Regions from separate parts of the Homo sapiens genome. Here region 2 is linked to region 1. Evidence: promoter capture Hi-C in human tissues and cell types (Jung and others, 2019). All regions are on one chromosome and are shown on one strand. Each heading gives the region's core, a stretch centred on a gene start or on the middle of the fragment in contact. The rest is flanking DNA. Distances are from core to core; before and after follow the strand shown. Region 1 holds the start of POU5F1B (POU class 5 homeobox 1B). Region 2 has its middle 31 kb from the start of CASC8.

Region 1 (4,814 bases), core at 2,148-4,647:
CATTCTGCCTCACCATCTCGCTTGCAGCTTCTGCCTAATGTTGACTTACAGTTCAAGATGGCTTCTGGAGTGCTACCATTACATCCATGTTGTAGGCTAGAAGGAAAAGGGCAATGGCCTGAAGAGGAAGGGAGAGTTCCTGTTAACTCAGCTTCCTTTAAACAGCCTCCCCAAAAGTTTCACGCTGTATTTTTGCTGATTCTCATTGGTCACAACTTAGTGCCATGGAAGACTAGTAAATATAGTCTTTTAGCTGGATGGCCTGCTATCTTATATAAAATGAGGTTAGGTTACTAAGACAGAAAGGGAGAGCAGATCTTGGGAGGCAGCTAGCTGTTTTTGCCATCCCAAGTGTTGTGATTTCTACCTGCTTTCAATTTAACCTATTTGCCAGTTTCTCTGCATCCAACCATCATGGTTCTAGTTGAGGTCCAACCTCAGAGAAATAGCTACTTAAGTGATACTGGGATACTTTGTACAGAGCAAAGAAACCAGTCTTTATGCCACTTGGAATGGATTTTTCCAATTGTCCTGCCCCCACTGAAAAAAACTCTTCGTTCAGAAGAAATAATGACCAATGACGTAAGAAGGACTAATGTTTCCACCTGCCTCTCAATTTAATAGCAAGAGATTCCACATGTCAGACAGGAAAGAAGGCTAGGAAGGAAAATGAGCATTAAGATTAATAATTGATGTTAATACTGACAACAAAGACAAACAATGGTGATAAATGAAATGGCAGAACCAAGGAAATTGTTCTACTGTGATATCTTTCTTTCAAGCAGGTCAACTGTATAATTACCAAACTCAATTTCATCAGGAATTTCATCAACATCAGAGCCCCTGGGCCACCAGTCTTCAATGTTTGCTACCAGTGTGTTACTGTCTGCTTGTCATTATCTAGAGACAAAAATGGAACATTACAATGGGCTTTATGACCCTTCTGTACCTCAGCATTTCCATCCTGCCCCCTTCACCTAGCTGTACCTCATTATCTATCCCAGTGCCTGGCCTGTGATATCCCTAGAAATTATTATTGCACTAAACTAAATTAAACACAAAGACTTAGTTAGCGGATTCACAATTTTTAGTTGTACTACATAGTCAAACGAGTAGACGTTCAGGTCACAAAATCTAGCCTGTCTCCCCATGAAACCACAATGCCATTGTCTGAACAGATTAAATAAAGCAGAGCATCACCTCAAACGATTTTCATGGTTCAAATCTAGGTAGCTATACTTACCAGCTGTGAGGCTTAGGCCAACCTATTAACCTTCTATTTCACTTTTCTGCTAAATGAGACAATATGGACTTGACTTCATTTTGTGAGAAATAAATAATCTAAGTAACTGGTCAAACACATTTTGTGCTTCTTAAAAAAAGGTGGTACACACACACACACACACACACAACACCCGATATAATACAATATTTTCAAATGACACTAGAAATATTTTAGTCAGGTCTAAAGGAACAGAAGTTAATGATAAAATGATAAACAATAAATAATAGCTACTGTTTCATGAGAAAATTACACACATCTTACTTGACTTAAACCTCACAACAGAATTGAGCAGAAAGTTATTACCCTGAGAAAGGGGACTTAAGGTTGGCAGGATAACAAGTGGGAGAATCTAGAGGTAAAGTCATATCTATCTTATTGGAAACACTCAAGAACGTCAAATAAGCATGAGAATTTGAGCAAGACTGAAGGAGAACGTTTAAGTTCCCTTTCCAACTCATATCCCAATTCTGGAATCTAATTTCTGTAACAAGTAACTATATTCCTTACTACAGAAGTAAAGATGGCCCCATGGAGAAACTGGCAGCATGGCATGATGGAAATGGAATAGAATCAGGAATTGTTTTGTACCTGTGTGTGTGTGACTTTGGTGTTCTGACTCAGACACATATTTGAGAGGTAGAGAGGGGAGAAGAGGGTTGCCACATTATGTAACAGAAAGGAGCCCACTGCTTAAACACTTACCTTGTGCCAGACATTGCACTAGGACTTTATTACCTGCAACCCATCCTGCAAAACTGTGAAGATTTGATATGATCATTCTCATTTTATGGTTGAGAAACAAGGGTTAAGGACATTAAAAATTTACTCAATGTTTAAACATTTGCCTGTCTTATTCTAAAGCCCCTTCTCTTTTCACAATCCCTTTAAGAAATGGACATCCAATATTTGAGTGGCAGAGGCAAAAACATGGCCTACCAGAACCATTATGATAGCTTTACAATATGCCCACCAATTATTTGATAGTCCTCCTGCCAAATGGTGAAGGCTAATTACCCTCCTACAGAATGTGACTCACTTCTAATGAATAAAATATGGCACAAGTAAAAGTGTGCGATTTCAGAGACTAGGTCATAAAGAACGCAGTGGCTTCTTCCCTGCTCTCTCTTTCTTAGGTCATTCTCTCTGGGTGAATCCAGCTGACATGTTGTGAGGACACTCAAGCAGCTTTATGGAAAAGCCCACATGGTGAGCAACTGAGGCCTCCTACCAACAGCCAACAAGAAACCGGGGCCTTTGCCAACAGCCAAGTAAGTGAGACATTTTGGAAAGTGGATCCTCCAGCCCCCGTTAGGCTCCCAGATGACAACATCCCCTGCTCTCATCTTGACCACAACCTCATGAAATACCCTTATCCAGGATACCCAGTTAAGCCACACCACAATTGCTATTTTACAAAACTGTGAGCTATGTGTTAGTTGTTTTTAAGCTATTAAGTTTTGAGGTGATCTATTACACAATGATAAACAACTAATACACCCATCCAGTGCTGAAGAAAGGGGTTGTCAGGAGGGTAGAATTTGCACTATTAAATCTTCATAGAGTGCTATTTCCCGTCACTACAGCACACTTGTCACCAACTATAAAGAATTAGGTCAGGGAATTTCTTTGGTTGCAGCCCATTTTGCCTTTGGTTGTTAATGGTAGAACCGTTTCCCCACAATCTGCAGGAAATAAGAATCAGAAAGAAGGACACACCATTCCATAGCACAGAACACAAGTAGATGGCTCCCATGAAGAATCTAGCATCATGGTATGGCAGAAGCAGAATGGACTCAGGAATCATGGTGCCTACACTGGAATTTCAGATCGGCCACTGACACAATGGACACATTATTCAACATTTCCAAATCTTGGCATTCTTATCCACAAAGTGAAGATAATAATTGTCAATTCACAGGTGATTATGATTTAAAGAGATTACTTTTGAAGAGTTCCTAACACATTCAGTCAACATTTAATGATGCTTCAGGCACTGTGTTCATTGCTAGTGAGCGTATGACACACACAGCCATACGGTCACAGAGCTTTCAATGAAAAGTAACATAATTGCTCATTTCACCAGGCCCCCGGCTTGGGGCGCCTTCCTTCCCCATGGCGGGACACCTGGCTTCGGATTTCGCCTTCTCGCCCCCTCCAGGCGGTGGGGGTGATGGGCCATGGGGGGCGGAGCCGGGCTGGGTTGATCCTCTGACCTGGCTAAGCTTCCAAGGCCCTCCTGGAGGGCCAGGAATCGGGCCGGGGGTTGGGCCAGGCTCTGAGGTGTGGGGGATTCCCCCTTGCCCCCCGCCGTATGAGTTATGTGGGGGGATGGCGTACTGTGGGCCTCAGGTTGGAGTGGGGCTAGTGCCCCAAGGCGGCTTGGAGACCTCTCAGCCTGAGAGCGAAGCAGGAGTCGGGGTGGAGAGCAACTCCAATGGGGCCTCCCCGGAACCCTGCACCGTCCCCCCTGGTGCCGTGAAGCTGGAGAAGGAGAAGCTAGAGCAAAACCCGGAGAAGTCCCAGGACATCAAAGCTCTGCAGAAAGAACTCGAGCAATTTGCCAAGCTCCTGAAGCAGAAGAGGATCACCCTGGGATATACACAGGCCGATGTGGGGCTCATCCTGGGGGTTCTATTTGGGAAGGTGTTCAGCCAAAAGACCATCTGCCGCTTTGAGGCTCTGCAGCTTAGCTTCAAGAACATGTGTAAGCTGCGGCCCTTGCTGCAGAAGTGGGTGGAGGAAGCTGACAACAATGAAAATCTTCAGGAGATATGCAAAGCAGAAACCCTCATGCAGGCCCGAAAGAGAAAGCGAACCAGTATCGAGAACCGAGTGAGAGGCAACCTGGAGAATTTGTTCCTGCAGTGCCCGAAACCCACACTGCAGATCAGCCACATCGCCCAGCAGCTTGGGCTCGAGAAGGATGTGGTCCGAGTGTGGTTCTGTAACCGGCGCCAGAAGGGCAAGCGATCAAGCAGCGACTATGCACAACGAGAGGATTTTGAGGCTGCTGGGTCTCCTTTCTCAGGGGGACCAGTGTCCTTTCCTCCGGCCCCAGGGCCCCATTTTGGTACCCCAGGCTATGGGAGCCCTCACTTCACTGCACTGTACTCCTCAGTCCCTTTCCCTGAGGGGGAAGTCTTTCCCCCAGTCTCCGTCATCACTCTGGGCTCTCCCATGCATTCAAACTGAGGTGCCTGCCCTTCTAGGAATGGGGAACAGGGGAGGGGAGGAGCTAGGGAAAGAGAACCTGGAGTTTGTGGCAGGGCTTTTGGGATTAAGTTCTTCATTCACTAAGGAAGGAATTGGGAACACTAAGGGTGGGGGCAGGGGAGTTTGGGGCAACTGGTTGGAGGGAAGGTGAAGTTCAATGATGCTCTTGATTTTAATCCCACATCATGTATCACTTTTTTCTTAAATAAAGAAGCCTGGGACACAGTAAAAAAAAAAAAAAAAGAAAGAAAAGAAAAGTAACATAATTGAGTAATAATTTTTTAAGTGTGGTAAAATGTGTGGCACGTAGTAGGTA
Region 2 (4,935 bases), core at 467-2,966, 97 kb after region 1:
TCTTCAGCCTCATGTCAATTATTGCTTGCTGGTGAGAGAAGAAAGACAACAGACAAAAAAAAAAAAAAAAAAGTAACCGCACTAGATAACGCATTTTCTTTTTCTTTATTTTTTTTTTAAATTATACTTTAAGTTCTAGGGTACATGTGCAAAATGTGCAAGTTTGTTATACTTTAAGTTCTAGGGAACATGTGCAAAATGTGCAGGTTTGTTTCATATGTATACATGTGCCACGTTGGTGTGCTGCACTCATTAACTTGTCATTTACATTAGGCATATCTCCTAATGCTATCCCTCCCCCTCCCCCCACCTCATGACAGGCCCCGGTGTGTGATATTCCCCTTCCTGTGTCCAAGTGTTCTCATTGTTCAATTCCCACCTATGAGTGAGAACATGATAACGCATTTTCTAACATGTGACAGAAAGTGACTGAAAGGTGAACTCTGTGTTAGGTAGGAGAAAACTTATTAGTCTCATTTTACCAATGAGGCATTAGAGGCTCAGAGAAATTAAGTAACTTCTCCAAGATCACATAGCTACCCACGGACAGAGCAAGTCTGTCTAAATAGGAAGCAATAAAATAGCATACACAGCAGAATATAGTCAAGAATTAGATGTATTATGCTTTAAGCCTTTGTTTCGTAGCTTCTTAAGAATAGGAAGAAAAGTCAGTGTTGGCTACATTGGCTAGAAATCTTCACGAAGGAAGAAAAAGTTAAGCTTGTCTTGGAGCGTGGTTAGGATTTAGACAGGTAGAAAGAAAGAAAAGAGTTGTGAGCAGGAAGAAATGGGTATTTATCGAGGACTTATTAAGTGGCAAGAACAAGACAAAAAGTTTTAGATATGGTGTTTTAGTAAATATTTAAAGTTTTTTTTTTGTTTTTGTTTTTGTGTTTTTTTGAGACGGAGTCTCACTCTGTCGCCCAGGCTGGAGTGCAGTGGCGCAGTCTCGGCTCACTGCAAGCTCTGCCTCCCGGGTTCACACCATTCTCCTGCCTCAGCCTCCCGAGTAGCCGGGACTACCAGGCGGCCGCCACCACGTCCGGCTAATTTTTTGTATTTTTTAGTAGAGACGGGGTTTCACTGTGTTAGCCAGGATGGTCTCGATCTCCTGACCTTGTCATCCGCCTGCCTCGGCCTCCCAAAGTGCTGGGATTACAGGCGTGAGCCACTGTGCCCAGCCAAATATTTAAAGTTTTTTAAATTCAGGCTGGTTACATGACCTTTCGAGGTGACATAAGATGCTGGGTGTTGGGCATGTAGGTAGCAACTGGCACGCTGTATGCAGGGAACACTAAAATGGCTCAGGTACCTGAGGAAGAAATTTACATTGGGGACTATTGAGAAGTATAATTCAATGGGCTAGCAAACCAATGAGAGGCAACTGAAGACATTGAAGGAGAGGTGGTGGAAGCTGGAAGTGGCATAGGAGACAACAGGAACTGTAGCAATTTTTTCAACAAGGAAGTAAAACTCAGATGTTGGAACTGAAACCATCTTTTACCATACTCTTTCATCTTGGAGTCATCACTCTCAAATATGGCTCCCCAGAGATGCTCCCTTCTCGTATGATATTAGAATTAGTTGTATCACTTATTTGCTAGACTGGGCTACAGAATAAGAACACAGACTATGTCAACCCCTCTATCCTCTTAGAATCTGGCATGGGATCAGGCACACATTGTTTGATTTCAACTGGCAAGGCCATGGCAATCAGGCAGACAGGTTAGCTAGAAAATGGTGAAAAAATGGCACCAAATTAGGGCATCACAGCACCAGATAAAACTAAGCAGAGATTCACCTGAGGTGGCCCGAGGCAGCAGAGCCGGAGGGGCCTGACTCTGATCCTACAAAGGGGAACTCAGAATCATCACTGTGAAGGTGAGAAGAGCCATCAATTCTAAAGGATGAAGGAGGATAAACTGATAGAAGAAAAATGAGCCAGGACATCAGAAAGAAAATTAAAAACAAAGTGGAATACAGTGTGAAGATTGATTTGGGGCAAAAGATTTGAAACTAAGACCATGAACAATGAGATTCGTTAATGGAGTTTCCCTTTGTATGATGCCTAGACCCAGCAACAGGGCAGTTGCAGTGATTTAAGGATGACTCACAGGGATGGATACCTGTTGAACACACCTTAAAAAGGTGAAAGAAAGGTAGGAAGGAAACGAGATAGATGTGAGAAACATAGATAAGGACAGGGAACTGAGGAAAGGGAAAAAGGAAATAATCCATGATATTTTCAGAAATGATTTATAACAGGGATTGGTAAACTATGACCCTGAGACAAATTCAGTATACTGTTTCTATAAATAAAGCTTTGTTAAATCACAGCCACACCTATTCATTTAAGTAATATCTATGCCTGCTTTCAAACCATAGTTGCAGGGTTGTTGCAAGAAAGATTATCTAGCTCACAAAACCCAAAATATTAACTATCTAGCCCTTAACAGAAAAGGTTTGCCACCCTAGTCTATAGTAAAGGAGTATTGCAATATGGATGCTAAGTGGCTAAAGATAAAGCTGACATTCTATATCAGGGCCAGAATTTTGAATGCCTTGCTAAGGTGTTAGAACTTTCTCTGCAGGCAATAAGGATCCATGCAAATAGCCTAAAATTTTTCTCTACATAAGCATAATTCAAAACCAATCAAAGAACTCGACAGTGGCAATCAATGTGGCACATGAACAATAAGAACACTACTGGCATGTTTAATCAACCAAGCTCTCTTCTGGCTTCAACTGCCTAAGACTTAAGAACTGTATGCTGGTCACCAGTCTGCCAAATTAGAGAGTCACAATGCCACTGTGGTCTTTAAATTTCTAATGTCCAAAATGGGGGAAATAATCCCACCTGTGGGCTTATTATGAACATAAAATTTAGATAATAGAGAAAAAAATATATTAAATAAATAAAATATTTTACAAAGGTCTGACATCACTCATTCACTTACTCAATGAAAAAAAATGTATTTAGTGCCTGTTGTGCGCAGAGGAATCCAGAGATGAGGGAGATTAAGGCCCATAGACTAGAAGGAAAGATGGGATGCAAACGGCAGTGCCAAGTTCACACATAAAGCAAAGTAGGGAGGAAACCACTCAGCTTGAGAAGAAGTAGGCTGTCAGGAAAAGGGTCCATAGGAAGGGTTTCCAGCAAGGAAGAAAAGATCATGATGCTGAGGAAGGAGATGAAGCTGCTTTCTATGTACAACAAGTGCAAAGGCCTAATGTAGTTCAAAGTGAGTGGCACCTAGAAGCCAACTGTGGATGCAAACAGAAATGAAGCAAAAGATGGAGGGAGGATATGAAAGGTTTTCTATGCTATGCCAAGGAACTTGGACTTTATCCATTGGAAGTAGTAAGCCTTTGAAGGATTTGGCTTCCAGGAAAGACATGGTCAGAACTGGGTCACAAATGTCTCCATTGATCAGACTGTTAGTTGAGATTCCAGCTTTTCCTCCCCTGCATGAATGAGGGGGGCAGAGCTTAAGACTGGTCATGACAGACCTCTCAATGACCTTTCCATTTCAGGCAAGTCAAGGTTACCACTCATAGTCATCGTCCTAGCAGCCATTGGGGAAAAGCAGCTGGACAAGAGAAAAGAATGACGGCACATGAAACACCCTTGAATAATCCCCCTAAATTGACCCCCGGCCCTGGGACATCTGCCTACAAAAGAAACCGTGCCTGCATCTGTGCTATGTTTCACATTTCCCAGGCCCGTATCTTCTCCAAACGCAATCTGGACAGCCAATATTTATCAAGCAAGAGAGGAAACAATCAACATATTCAGGAGAGGATGGAAAGAGCAAGATAATTTCTTGATTTGGGTTTACACAGTGGATCAGGGTTTGTGTTGTTCTCTCACCTCCAAAAACCTCATTGATATCTTCTCCACCTTAGAGGAAAAGAGGACTAGGAAGTTATTGATATAAAAAGAATTGCCATGGGAAGGATGCCCACGTGGGACAGTGCCAAAGCTCTCTCTCCTGATGGGACCCTCTGCTAATGGAACCACTTGACCAAGAAGGACAATTTTTTATTTTTGTTCCTAAAACTTCAGAGTGTCATGGAAGAGAAAACAGGACCCGGTTGCAGTTTGACATGCACAGAAGCCCAAAAAGGACTCATTGCTGCTGAGAGGTAGTGTCATCAAAAAGGAAAGTATGGGTCTTGTAGGCAGATAAATGTGGGTCTAAAACTGGGTCCCAAGCCATACCTCCTGTGTGACCTTAGGGCACATGCTAAACTTTCCTAAGCCTCATTTTCTCATCTATAAAATGGGTAATATATTCTAATGAATAGGTAATATATTCCAAATGCTAAGCACAGTATTTAATGTGTACTCAATATACCCCATTATTAAAATTATGCATAGCTTAATGCTCAAGATGAGTTCCCAGGCCATTTATTTAGTAAAGTATGATGTGCTTTAAAAACAAAAATAATAATCCTACAACATGAAAGTCATAATACACTAAAAGAAATGTTTGAAGAAATGGCATCCATAAAATAAAATAATTACTATTTAAGATTTTCTACAGATTTCTTAATTAGCATAGAGTAGATATTCAGGAAATTTTGTTGAATGTTTAGATAAATTATTGAGCTAATTAATTTAATACATGATATAGGCAGATTTTAAGTCTATAAACCTGCATAAGACAAAGCAGTATTAGTATAAAGAAAGCTTACATAGACCGACAAAACTGAAAAAGTACAATTGCCAAAGGATTGAAAGAACAACGCAGAGAAGAGGAATTTGAAATTACCAATAAGCCTTTGAGCAAACCAATGTTCAAACAATACATAGTTGTATAAACACAAATGCAGACTAAAGCATTATTCACTATCGAGTTGTAAAAGATTTTTAAACTAACAGCATCCTATGATTGTTTGGGTGTCATGAGATGAAGCAATTCAGGCACAGTT

What was found. The method cuts DNA at HindIII sites, captures the fragments that hold promoters and counts their contacts. A contact is called where the count stands out against the background at its distance.
Region 2: a fragment that was not itself captured here is called in contact with the fragment with the promoter of POU5F1B in region 1 in 3 of the 25 tissues and cell types used here (lymphoblastoid cells, small bowel and thymus).

What each region holds. Positions count from the first base shown.
Region 1 is chr8:127,412,470-127,417,283 of GRCh38, forward strand. It overlaps POU5F1B (POU class 5 homeobox 1B), which reads left to right and starts at 3,398. Exons shown (of 1, transcript NM_001159542.3): 1 at 3,398-4,477. The coding sequence starts at 3,398. The coding sequence ends at 4,477. All of the region lies in intron 5 of CASC8 (cancer susceptibility 8), which reads right to left. The HindIII fragment of the contact is 11,415 bases long and covers 1-4,814 here.
Region 2 is chr8:127,510,950-127,515,884 of GRCh38, forward strand. No RefSeq gene overlaps it. Among named protein-coding and RNA genes, the nearest start is that of CASC8, 31 kb to the left of the region's middle. The HindIII fragment of the contact is 3,582 bases long and covers 1-3,507 here.